4 separate regions of the Homo sapiens genome follow, and regions 2, 3 and 4 are each linked to region 1. Evidence: promoter capture Hi-C in 16 types of primary human blood cells and fetal thymus (Javierre and others, 2016). All regions are on one chromosome and are shown on one strand. The core of a region is centred on a gene start or on the middle of the fragment in contact, and the rest is flanking DNA. Distances in the headings are between cores, read along the strand shown.

Region 1 (2,907 bases), core at 1-2,500:
CTCACCGTGCATTGCCTGAGGGCCCTGGGCTCTCAGTCTGCATTGATTGGAGCTGGGACCGAAGCCCCCATTCCAGAAACCGGACCAGGAGATAGGCAAACAAGAAGAAGCCACCCAATGTGAGAAAGAAATAAGCAACGGGGGTGATGTCCGTCTTTATGCCCAGCAAAGCCAGCCCCAGTAGGAAGGAGGCGCAGCACAGGAGGAGAAGCGGCTTCTCCAGTCTCCCCAGTAAGTGCATTGGCACCATGGCCCCTCCCCAGGCTCCTGCAAAAAGACACACAGCTATTGTGTCTACACTAGCAATTGGTGTCATGGCTGTGTCAGATACCAAAGTAACCATATGATATTTCTTTGTTTGGTTTCTAGGTTCTTCAATCTCAAATAAATCATCTGTAGAGTCCCCTCCAGTTCCGAAATTCTCTCTATGTCTTGGAGTGTGTGGAATAGCCAGGAAACCAGCCCAGGAGCTTTGACTCCCAGCCATTCTGTAAGTTGACTGTGTCATGGCTCTGCCTTCTTTCCTTTCTCCTTCCCTGTAGTCTCCCTTCCAGCTTTGTCCCTTACCACCATCCAGGATCCGGTCCTGGGCACGCCCTGCCTGGGGCTTCAGTGCACACTGGCATCTCTGGAATTCAGGTGATGGGGCAGGCCCTGCCCTTCCTCTGTTATTGCTCCTACTGGATCTCCACCCCCACCTCCCCAGCCAGAGGCCCTCAATCCAGCCCCGTTAGAGAGAAGAGGGGAGGGAGCCCCACTTACCCTGTCTGACTCTGTCTTTTCCTTTCCTCCGGTGTTAGCCCATGCTCCAGGTGGAGGGAGAAAGTGCACACAGGCGCACCAAAGCCACAGGGACACAACTGCTTGAGAAACAATTGTACAGGCAAAGGCCCAGCACAATGGCCGGAGGCCCTGATAACTCCTGTCCTCTTCTAGACCCCACATCTGCCAGGGCCCTCCTCTACCCTCTGCTGATCCTAACTTGTTAAACTCAGTTTGCAAATTTCCTGCCAGGAGGTAGCCCAGTGGCTGGGAGGCGGTGGGCAGGGGAACTCTTTTCTTTCCTTGTAACAGCAACAACCCGAGGCAGCCCATACCCCAGAAACAGCCTGTCAGAAGTTGCCAGCGCTCTGTGTAGCAAGGAATTGCAGATTCCCTCCTCACACCTCGGTCCCAATCCCATGACCCTCCCGACCCTCGCACCCACACCTGTCTCAGAAGTTCGTCGCTCACCTGTCTCCACAGACTGTAGAAAGTAGATGGGGTGGGGGGTGGTGGGAAGGGCCGGAGCGGGTAGGTGGAGCCCACTGGCCCCACCCTCTTTTTCTGTCCCAATCCCTGTTCTGGCCCAGTCAGTCTCCGCCCCTTTTCTCCCTAAGGCTGACTTCCAACTGCTGAACCTTGATTTGTTCTGGTTTTTACTCTCTCCACCCACCCATGCTGTACCCTAATGAGAGTGCACCCCTGACTCCCAATGATCTTTGTACTTAGGACCGGAGTTAGCATTAACCTTTCCCTCTCGGCGCATATTGTATGTTAATTACAGCCCTGGGCAGTTTGCCTTCTATTTGGGTAATTTACCTTGTGCGTCTCTCCCAAGTGACTGGAAGCGGAGACCTCGGCTTATTTAATCTCTGTAGATCATCACACAGTGCACTGCACACAGAAAGTAATGCTGTGGGCATGGAATGGTGTGTCCTGCTTCCATTACCCAAGTGCTATTTTTATGGACTCCCTGTATTCTGCAGACCTGTCAGAAGTGTTAGTGTGTATATTTCTTGACCCAGTTAACTCTTGAGTCTTCAAGATCCTCCTCCGAGGTGATGCTGCTTTGGAGCCTGCTCCAGTGTATCCACATCGTTCCTTCCTAAATTTGTCCCAGCATTTACCTGGTTATGTAGCATTTTTCTGCTTACTGATTTTCCTTCCACTGTGAGTTTCTCAAGGTGCGTGATTAGTTTTAATCATCTCTGAATCCTGGAAACTAACATGGTTCCTGAAACGTGGTAGGTCACTAACTAGAAGGCTCCCCTCTCACCAGGCCTCACCACACCTGTGAAGATCAAAGAGCTGTTCTTTTTAGTTGTGGGTCAGGCAGTTAAGTCGGAGTAGGGTAGGTGCTTGGAGGTAGAGAGTGAGTAGAAGCATACTTGGTCCTTGAGCCAGAGGGTGAACAAAACTGGGCCCCGTTCCTTCAGAGGGTGACCAGCAGACAGACCGAGGGAAGCTGCAGACCGTGGGCACAAATCCAATCCAGGCTCCCCAGGGACAGCTGGGGTGGGGAAGCATAGGAGAGGGTGTGTGTGTGTGTGTGTGTGTGAGAGAGAGAGAGAGAGAGTATGGGAATGAGAATAACTGTGTCTGTAGTGGTAATAAGTGTGGGCACTGGTGGGATATTGAAGATTCTCTGTCCCAGAGCCCCAGATCGATAGCAGAGAGAGGAAGGAGACATTAACAGGAAGGCTGTGGGAGTCTAAATGAGGTGTGTCTCTATGCAAAGTAGGCACAGGAGTGAGGGGGGCTGATTGTTGTTCTGTTTCAGCCAATTTCCTCACTGTTCTGCTCATAAGGGGAAAGTACAGCTGGAATCAGGACTGCAGTCTACAGTTAACATATGAATAGAAGGAAATTGGCCAAGGGTCATTGGTGTGTGTGATAGGAAAGGGGGTTTGTTAAGGAGTGAGTTGTGGGAATGGGAAGGTGTAGGCTAAGAGGCACGGGGCCAAAAGGTATGGGCCTGAGGTGTAAGGGGAGAGTCTGGGAGAGGCGGACCTTTGTAGCTTAAGTCTCTTGGTTGCCGGAAGGAGAGTACGATAGACAAGAACTGGATCCCAACTGGAGAGGCTAGACTGGTGGCTGGCTGTGCCCGTTCATACATTCTCAATTCCAGTAATGTAAAATCAATTT
Region 2 (2,907 bases), core at 1-2,500, 230 kb before region 1:
GAGAGAAAGAAGCCAACAAGAAACTAACAGAGGGTTTCTTTTATTTAGACTTTCAAAAGACCTTGACAAGATCTCATACCAAATTTAGTCATCACAGATTCAGTAGGCGGCTTTATCATGTAAAAGGAACTGGCTCACAAGACAGAAACACCATGCAGGCAAATAACACATATCCCAGCGATGGAGGCTGAGATCATAAAAGGTTGGGGAGGGACAACACAGTGAAGTTGATAAATCCAGAGATGACATTTACCTCCTTTCAGTAAAGGAATTACCAAATTGATGAGGAAAAAAAAAAACACTAAAAAATGTGGAAGTTTGCATGACAGCAAAAAAAAAACAAGAAGAATAGTAAATGAGTTTTCTTTTATAAAATAAATTTAAATTTAACATATATAATGCAAATATATGTAAATTAATTATTTTCAAGTTATCTGTCATAAACCAAGAAAAAGGCCTGTATGATGTAGGGAAAGGAGGCATTACAGTAATTGCAGTTGTCGGCTGCTATGCAGAGGGAGCACAAAGACTGACATGACATTGTAGAAGACAGAGTAGTCAAATGAAATGATTAGAAACCACCTTTTGTTAGCTTCTTCATGCCTGGTACTATGTAATGGGCTTTCTTTATAATATGCCTGATTCTCACAGCAACCCTATGAATTAGGCATCATTATCTCCATTTAGATGTAGAGACTGAGGATCATGGAAATTGAGTACATCAACCAAAGTCAATATGGCACATAAGTGATTAAGCCAGGATTTTAATCTAGTGATGTCTTCTTCCATAGCTTGTACAGTCTCAGAAAGACAGTAGGAAGTGCAGGAGGGAAAATAAGTGGAAAGATAGAAATAGGTGGATAGATAGAAGACAGACAGACAGATAGACAGACTTCCCTACATCTATGTCTACTCATCTCCTCATAAGGTTCCCACACCCAGATATACACTCACTTTACTTCTTGCACCTCAGAAAGAGAAAAGGCACTAGGTAATCCCCTGAAACAGCACGCTTATGGAGAGTTCCATGGTGGGAGGGAGAATACTCAGAGAAAATATGACTTAAGCCTGTCAAGTAATAAAGGATAAAAGTAAAAATGCTTTCAGTGTTTTTCTGCACCTACTATGTATCAGGTCTGTACCAGAAATTTGTACATGTTATTTCTATGGAATCATCCATCATCAAGCCTCTTTTGTTACCCTCTGTTGAATCAGTGAGGAGTCTGAGACTTTGGAAGAGTTTATTACCTTGCCCCTTCCCCACATCAAGCATTCAGAAAACAACAAAGCAGAAATATAAACTATAAACAACAAAGCAGAAATATAAACTATGGAGACTCCTTTTACTTCACTAAGGACTAAGGCTAAAAAAAAAAAATGAATGTATAGTGTGTTATTCCTAAAAGGAATCACTGGATAAAAGTGGGTTCCAGAATAATTTATATAAATTCATAGACCAGAAGCCTATGAAGAGTTATTAAATGAGGTTAAGAAATCCAGGCATATTCATAATCTTCTAAGTTTAACTTCTTACCAGATCAGGGAAATGATAAAATTTTATCCTAAACTACTATAGGACAATGATAAAATTCTGCTGTGACCTCTCATTTGGTGATTTTGTAAACTATAATACTAGATCAGTAAGCTCAGGTCTACTCTGGAAGACAATTCTTACAGAAATGGAACCATTCAGCCAGAGGTGTGAGAACCAGGCTCTAGTCCAGTTCTCCTGCTAAAAGACCATGGTGAGATCCAAGTCTGATTAGTGACATCTCTGGACCTCACATGAAGGCCTAGAATGTTTGACCTTTAAGCTCCATTCCAGTTCAGCATTCTATGGAATCCTCAAAACCTGAAAGGGGCTGACTGGTCTAGCTCTCACATCTCCCATCCCACATCCACCCTTTAGGGGTGCTTCCATTGACTCTTGAAATGGCCGATTAAAAACATCATGATTGCAGATAATTTTAATTATTCTATACAGCAAAAAATCAAATCTCAGATCTGCATCTCCAGCCCAGCAAGGCTCTCAGCCACATCCAGATGTCCTGGGCCACCAGCCAGCCATGACTCTGTGGGTGCTCCATGGAGTCTTACCCAATTAAAAAAGTGAATCTGCCGGAACAATAACAATAGCAGCAATGAATGTCAAAGCTAAGGAGAAATTATTTTTAGATTTGCTATCTTAGATTATCTGCATTGCTGCTCACATCCACATGTCCTCAAGAAAAATGTCAACAAAGGGAAATCTGAGGACAGAAATGCCTAGAGACCGTGGGTGATTTCTCTTCTGCAGAAGGTGGGGTATATGAAAAGAAGGGTAAGATGTGTCTCATGAGGGAAGGATGTTTTGGAAAAGGTATAAATAAGGACGACTATATAGTGGATAAGACTATGGACTATTGGGGGCTAGATTGCTTGGGTATAAATCTGGCTATACTGTTAATTAGCTAGATGATGTTTCATTTCCTTAGGCCTCAATTTCCTCATCTATAACATGGGTATGGAGAGAGTCCACTAACCTTATTGCACTGTCACTAAGAATAAGTTAAATTAAATTTGCAAAGTCCTCGTGAGCATTGCCTGGCAGTCTCTTAAATGTTAGCTGTTATAGCTGATGTTATTCATCACTCGGAAGAGTAAGAACATCTGCTTTCTCCCTGGGGGAGGAAGGTGGCTTAGGCAGGCCTTGTGGTGTTTTCTTCTCTCTCTGTAACTTCTCCTCCTAGGGTAGAGTTGGATTTGAATCACTGAAGCTTTGAAAGTATCTGTTCTCCCTCCCTCTCCCAGAGAAAAGACTGAAACATACATTCCTAGAATTTGTGACAATACCTCCTAAAAACTCTAAGAGCAGAAACACGCCTTAGTCTCTTTTCCATTTAATTAGCCCCTTTGACTTGCTTTAGA
Region 3 (2,907 bases), core at 181-2,680, 200 kb before region 1:
GTTACCTTCTGGAGGGTATCTCAATCCTTGAGGCCAACTCTGAAGGTGAAGATTCTGTCTATAGTAACAAGCAGCATACTGATCATAGTAGATCAGCATTGATCTACTTCTGCTGATACAAGGGAACCATCTCCCTAGGGCAGCAGTCAAAATTCCAGCCCCTGGCTCTGACCCTAGAACCTGATCTCCAACCTTGAGAACCCAAGGCCAGTTTCTATTCTTAGCAGTTTCTACAGTGACACCTTCTGGCCACTGCAGGACCAGGGCTGAATGGAGACAAGATGCCAGCTCCATCCAGGTCCTCTCTGCTCTCTCCCTCCACCAATGTTTCCAGCCAGAAGAAACATAAATTGAATTATGCATTTCAGCTTTCTTGCATTTTATTCTGTGGTTCTGCTCTCATTTTCTTAATGCAGATGTATGGCATTTGTCCTCTGGCTGTAGTGGCTTGCACAAACATGCTCTCATTAGATTCTCAGATTTGACCAAAATCCATTTTTAAAAATTTATTATTTGATCCTCTGGCACTGCTGATTTTCTAAACACAAATCCCTAACATTGAAAGGTGGAATTTCCTAGAGGTTGGTTGAAAGCATAGTGCCTGATATACTCAATAATGTTTTAATAAATGAATCAGTTTGTTAATTAAATTTTTTAAGAGCAGGAAATACATCTGGAGATTATATTTATATTAAGAAAAAGTGATGGCACTTAATTTTATTTTTCAAGAGGACCAGTCAGCATGGTAGAAGGGAGATGAACTGGTACAACCTTGGCTGACAAGGGAGAATTCACTCTGTTTGAAAAGATTCTGTGGGTTTCTATCACCTCATACTCAGTAGTAATACATGAGTATCATTGGTTTTCGAACGCTTGCATCACAACATTACTTTGTTAATCATTTGTTTAAACATCTAAATAAATGCCTGAAACTCACTATATAAATTGCATGTTATTAAGGAGTAAGGCATAACTACTGTCATAATTTAATTACAAAGCTCCAAATTTAATTAGCCAAATACTAACCTTGTTCTTCTCCTTCATAGCACTTAGCACAATTATACTTAATTAATTATTTGTAATTATTGATGTAATCTCTGTGTCCCTAGATAAATTATAAGAATCAAGAAAGCAAGGGCCCGTGTTTCTATCTTTCTTACTTACCAGCAGGTAACCAATGCCTGGCACAGACCCTGGCACACCAGCAGGGGATTAGTAGATATTGGTTTCAAGGACTTCAGCTTTATCTGGACTTGTGGGAGAAATGAAAAGGATGTGAGAGGATTCCTGTCTGGACTTAGTGGACCCTAGAAGAAGCAGGAAGAGCAGCTCAATCCAGAGTTAAGAAATGAGCTGAGAAATCCTAGGACATGCCTACAGTTCTCAAGTGTCTGATTACAATACTTTACCCACTGCTTCCCCACAGTGAAGAATCCTTCCTTTCTTTCATATCTTCCACATTCCTTCCCTCCTTTTCCATTTTCCTATTGTCTTTCCTTAGTTTTTCTTTGCTTCTTTCATCCTTTCTTCTCTATCATTCCTTCTACATTGATAGATTACCTCCTACACAACTGTAACTGTGATCGGTCCTCGACGTGAAAGGATGGCCAAAACAGGGACTTTGTCCTTCAGAACCTCTCAGAATTTGGTTTAGTGTCAGAAACCAAATGTCCTTTTCTCCAAGACCTTTGCATTCCCTCCTAACCACCTAGATTGAAGAAGTGAGGTTCAATGTCCCAACTGGGAAGGGACAACATAACCTGGGTGAGTGAGTTCATCCTAATGGGTCTCTCCAGTGACAGGCAGACCCAGGCTGGACTCTTTATCTTATTTGGGGCTGCCTACCTGCTGACCCTGCTGGGCAATGGGCTCATCCTGCTCCTGATCTGGCTGGACGTGAGACTCCACCTGCCCATGTATTTCTTCCTCTGCAACCTCTCACTTGTGGACATCTGCTACACCTCCAGCAGGGTCCCTCAGATGCTGGTGCACTGCACCAGCAAAGAAAGACCATCTCCTTTGCCCGATGTGGGACCCAGCTCTTTTTCTCCCTGGCCCTCGGAGGGACCGAGTTTTTGTTGCTGGCCGCAATGGCCTATGACCGCTACGTGGCTGTTTGCGACCCCCTGTGTTACATAGCAGTGATGAGCCCAAGGCTCTGCATGGCACTGGCAGCTGTCTCTTGGCTAGTGGGCCTGGCTAATTCTGCTATGGAGACGGCACTGACCATGCACCTGCCCACCTGTGGGCACAACGTGCTGAACCATGTGGCCTGTGAGACACTGGCACTGGTCAGGTCGGCCTGCGTGGACATCACCTTCAATCAGGTGGTCATAGTGGCCTCCAGTGTGGTGGTGCTGCTGGTGCCCTGCTGCCTGGTCTCGCTGTCCTACACCCTCATTGTAGTTGCCGTCCTGCAGATCCACTCCACCCAGGGGCACCGCAAGGCCTTTGGGACCTGTGCCTCCCACCTCACTGTGGTCTCCATATCCTATGGGATGGCCCTCTTTACCTACATGCAGCCTCGCTCCATGGCCTCAGCTGAGCAGGAAAAGGTGATGGTACTCTCTTATGCTGTGGTGACCCCCATGTTGAATCCTTTCATCTACAGTCTGCGGAACAAGGATGTGAAGGCAGCTCTGAGTCGAGCTCTGATGAGGAGCTCTGAATTAAAACATTAGAGAGTGGTTTGAGTAACAAGAAGGCCTCACTCTGAAAACAGTGGGCATTGGACTGTGCTCTCCAGTATAACGTGTGTACGCATGTGTGTGTATGTGTGTGCATCTGTGTGTGTGTGCATGTGTATGTGTGTGTGTAAGGGAACAGGTGGGAGGACCACAATTTGTACTACTCTCTTTTGAGGTAATAGAAAAATGGATTTTATCCGGACTTTATCTTTGGCCCATG
Region 4 (2,907 bases), core at 297-2,796, 140 kb before region 1:
GCCTTAGCTGCCTTCCCGCGGGGCAGGCCTCGGGACTGCAGCCCACCATGCCTGAGCCTTCCCCCGCCTCCGTGGGTTCCTGTGCAGCCCAAGCCTCCCCGACGAATGCCGCCCCCTGCTCCAGGGTGCCCAGTCCCATCGACCGCCCAAGGGCTGAGGAGTGCGAGCGCATGGCGCGGAACTGGCAGGCAGCTCCACCTACAGCCCTGGTGCGGGATCCACTGGGTGAAGCCAGCTGGGCTCCTGAGTCTGGTGGGGACGTGGAGAGTCTTTATGTCTAGCTCAGGGATTGTAAACACACCAATCAGCACCCTGTGTCTAGCTCAGGGTTTGTGAGTGCACCAATGGACACTCTGTATCTAGCTGCTCTGGTGGGGCCTTGGAGAACGTTTATGTCTAGCTTAGGGATTGCAAACACACCAATCAGCACCCTGTGTCTAGCTCAGGGTTTGTGAGTGCACCAATCAACACTCTGTATCTAGCTGCTCTGGTGGGGCCTTGGAGAACCTTTATGTCTAGCTCAGGGATTGTAAATACACCAATCAACACTCTGTATCTAGCTGCTCTGGTGGGGCCTTGGAGAACTTTGTGTCTAGCTCAAGGATTGTAAACACACCAATCAGCACTCTGTATCTAGCTCAAGGTTTGTAAACACACCAATCAGCACCCTGTGTTTAGCTCAAGGTTTGTGAATGCACCAATCGACACTCTGTATCTAGCCGCTTTGGTGGGGCCTTGGAAAACCTTTGTGTGGATACTCTGTATCTAACTAATCTGATGGGGACGTGGAGAACCTTTATATCTAGCTCAGGGATTGTAAACGCACCAATCAGCACCCTGTCAAAACAGACCACTTGGCTCTACCAATCAGCAGAATGTGGGTGGGGCCAGATAAGAGAATAAAAGCAGGCTGCCGGAGCCAGCAGTGGCAACCCGCTGGGGTCCCCTTTCACAATGTGGGAGCTTTGTTCTTTCGCTTCTTGCAATAAATCTTGCTGCTGCTCACTCTTTGGGTCCACACTGCTTTTATGAGCTGTAACACTCACCGCGAAAGTCTGCAGCTTCATTCCTGAAGCCAACGAGACCACGAGCCCACTGGGAAGAACGAACAACTCCAGACGTGCTGCCTTAAGAGCTATAACACGCACCGCGAACGTCTGCAGCTTCACTCCTGAAACCCGCGAGACCACGAACCCACCAGAAAGAAGAAACTCTCAACACATCCGAACATCAGAAGGAACAAACTCCAGACGCGCTACCTTAAGAGCTGTAACACTCACCGTGAGGGTCCGCAGCTTCATTCTTGAAGTCAGGGAGACCAAGAACCCAACAATTCTGGACACACAAGCTTTCGTGGTTGTCACCCAGTATTCCTGGGTGACGGAAACACTTCCACTGCAGAGTAGCTTTCTATAGAAACAGGCTCTTGGCATAGTGTCCACCAGGAGATGCTGGTCTCAGCATCTCCTGGTTACTGGAGGGAGCTCACGGAGTTTGGCATTCTTGAGCCTCTCTGAGCTGAGCCCAGCCCACAGCACCCTGATGCCCCACAACCCTGGGCAGCCATATCAGACCCCTGCATCCTTCTGCACACTGCACTTTGACTTAAAACCCAGCCTAGTCCACGTGGCGCCCTCCACTGAGTATGACCTTGGGGAAAGAGAGTAGTCCAGTGCTGAGGTTAGCCAGGCCAGTGAGCAGCATGCATTGTCATCATTAGCCGTAAAGGAGGCATGAAGCTTCACCCAGCTTTTGGGTTTTAAGGCAATTACTTTGCAGCCGTCAAACTGGGCTCCCACCCTCTTCCAGACCTAGACTCTAATAAGCATTAGGAGACCCAGAGACATAACAGGATGGGGGTGGGAGTACCAGATGAGGGTTAGAGTGAACTCCTGGGTCTCCTGTCATCACTGTAAGGTGGAGGGCTTGATGCACTCTGAGGAAGAAGGAGGCACCTCATCCTATGTGACTACATCATAGCCATCTCGGGTATGGTCAGCAAAAAACACCCCCTTACAGAAGCTCATGGGGCTCATTGTCAATATCAAGTATAACAGAAAAATTAGAACTCACCTTTTGGTAAGGCAGCTACAGCAACAGACCAGCACATTTCTCAAGCCCAGTTTGGAGGAAGAGGTTTTATACATAAAAGATGAATTTGTACAGTCATTTCCCCAGGTCCCCCCAGCCTGGGGGACAAATGACACATTGCAATGGCACTAGGCCCTGTGCGCCCTGCCAGCTTGGTCTGTGGGTCTCCAGACCTAGCCCTCTCATGGGCATCCAGCCCCTGCACAGCTGTCCCGGACTCTGCTCCCACAGCAGCTCTGCTGCCTGCTGTTGCTGTCCATCTCCACCGCTGCTCAGCCTGCCCATGACCTGCCACCAGCCTCCTGCAGCTCCCAGCCATAGAGGAGAGGTCTTACCTCTAAGAACTGTGCTCTTTCCATCAGCTTTAGGTAGTCAAGTCTTTAAGGGATCACACAGATCTTTTTTTCCCCATAGATGACACACTTTCAATGGGTATCTCAGAAAGCAGACACCCTGAGAAAACTTCCTGGATGGCAAGACCTGTGTCCCATTTTTAGTTCACACATCTGCATTCTCTCCAACTCTGGATGCAAGTTCCCTGCCTTCCAGGCATCCAATGAGGCAACATTCTTTAATGCTTCTTTACTTTGTGCACCATCTAAACCCCAGAGTCTTCAGAACCTAGCCATTGCTACCAAAGCCTTTGCATAAATAAGATTCCTTGTGTCTACACAGAGTGATGAGAGTTAAATGCAGCAACTGAATGTGAGTTCTGGTGTCAGAACTTCTGGGTTTGAAGGTCACCTTGACTATTCCTAGCTGAATAACCTTGATTTCAGTTTATTTATCAGCAAAATGAGCAAACCACATGAGTTC

Evidence for each region. Contacts are between HindIII fragments. The CHiCAGO score rates a contact against its expected background, and 5 or more counts as called.
Region 2: a fragment that was not itself captured here is called in contact with the fragment with the promoter of TMEM139 in region 1 in 1 of 17 cell types (M1 macrophages); the score reaches 5.3 in M1 macrophages.
Region 3: a fragment that was not itself captured here is called in contact with the fragment with the promoter of TMEM139 in region 1 in 1 of 17 cell types (M0 macrophages); the score reaches 6.2 in M0 macrophages.
Region 4: a contact is called between a fragment that was not itself captured here and the fragment with the promoter of TMEM139 in region 1, in 2 of 17 cell types (neutrophils and total CD8 T cells). The highest score is 9.1, in neutrophils.

The regions. Positions count from the first base shown.
Region 1 is chr7:143,283,301-143,286,207 of GRCh38, reverse strand. TMEM139 (transmembrane protein 139) reads right to left here and starts at 1,250. Exons shown (of 3, transcript NM_001282876.2): 1 at 763-1,250; 2 at 6-267. The coding sequence starts at 250. TMEM139-AS1 (TMEM139 antisense RNA 1) reads left to right here. Exons shown (of 3, transcript NR_133932.1): 1 at 1-231; 2 at 370-490. RefSeq lists an enhancer at 25-1,224. The HindIII fragment of the contact is 11,639 bases long and covers 1-2,907 here.
Region 2 is chr7:143,514,414-143,517,320 of GRCh38, reverse strand. The region is part of intron 3 of EPHA1-AS1 (EPHA1 antisense RNA 1); the gene reads right to left. Among named protein-coding and RNA genes, the nearest start is that of TAS2R41, 38 kb to the right of the region's middle. The HindIII fragment of the contact is 3,016 bases long and covers 1-2,758 here.
Region 3 is chr7:143,488,236-143,491,142 of GRCh38, reverse strand. All of the region lies in intron 2 of EPHA1-AS1 (EPHA1 antisense RNA 1), which reads right to left. It also overlaps the pseudogene OR2R1P. Among named protein-coding and RNA genes, the nearest start is that of TAS2R41, 12 kb to the right of the region's middle. The HindIII fragment of the contact is 3,467 bases long and covers 1-2,907 here.
Region 4 is chr7:143,421,653-143,424,559 of GRCh38, reverse strand. The region is part of intron 2 of EPHA1-AS1 (EPHA1 antisense RNA 1); the gene reads right to left. Among named protein-coding and RNA genes, the nearest start is that of EPHA1, 14 kb to the right of the region's middle. The HindIII fragment of the contact is 391 bases long and covers 1,351-1,741 here.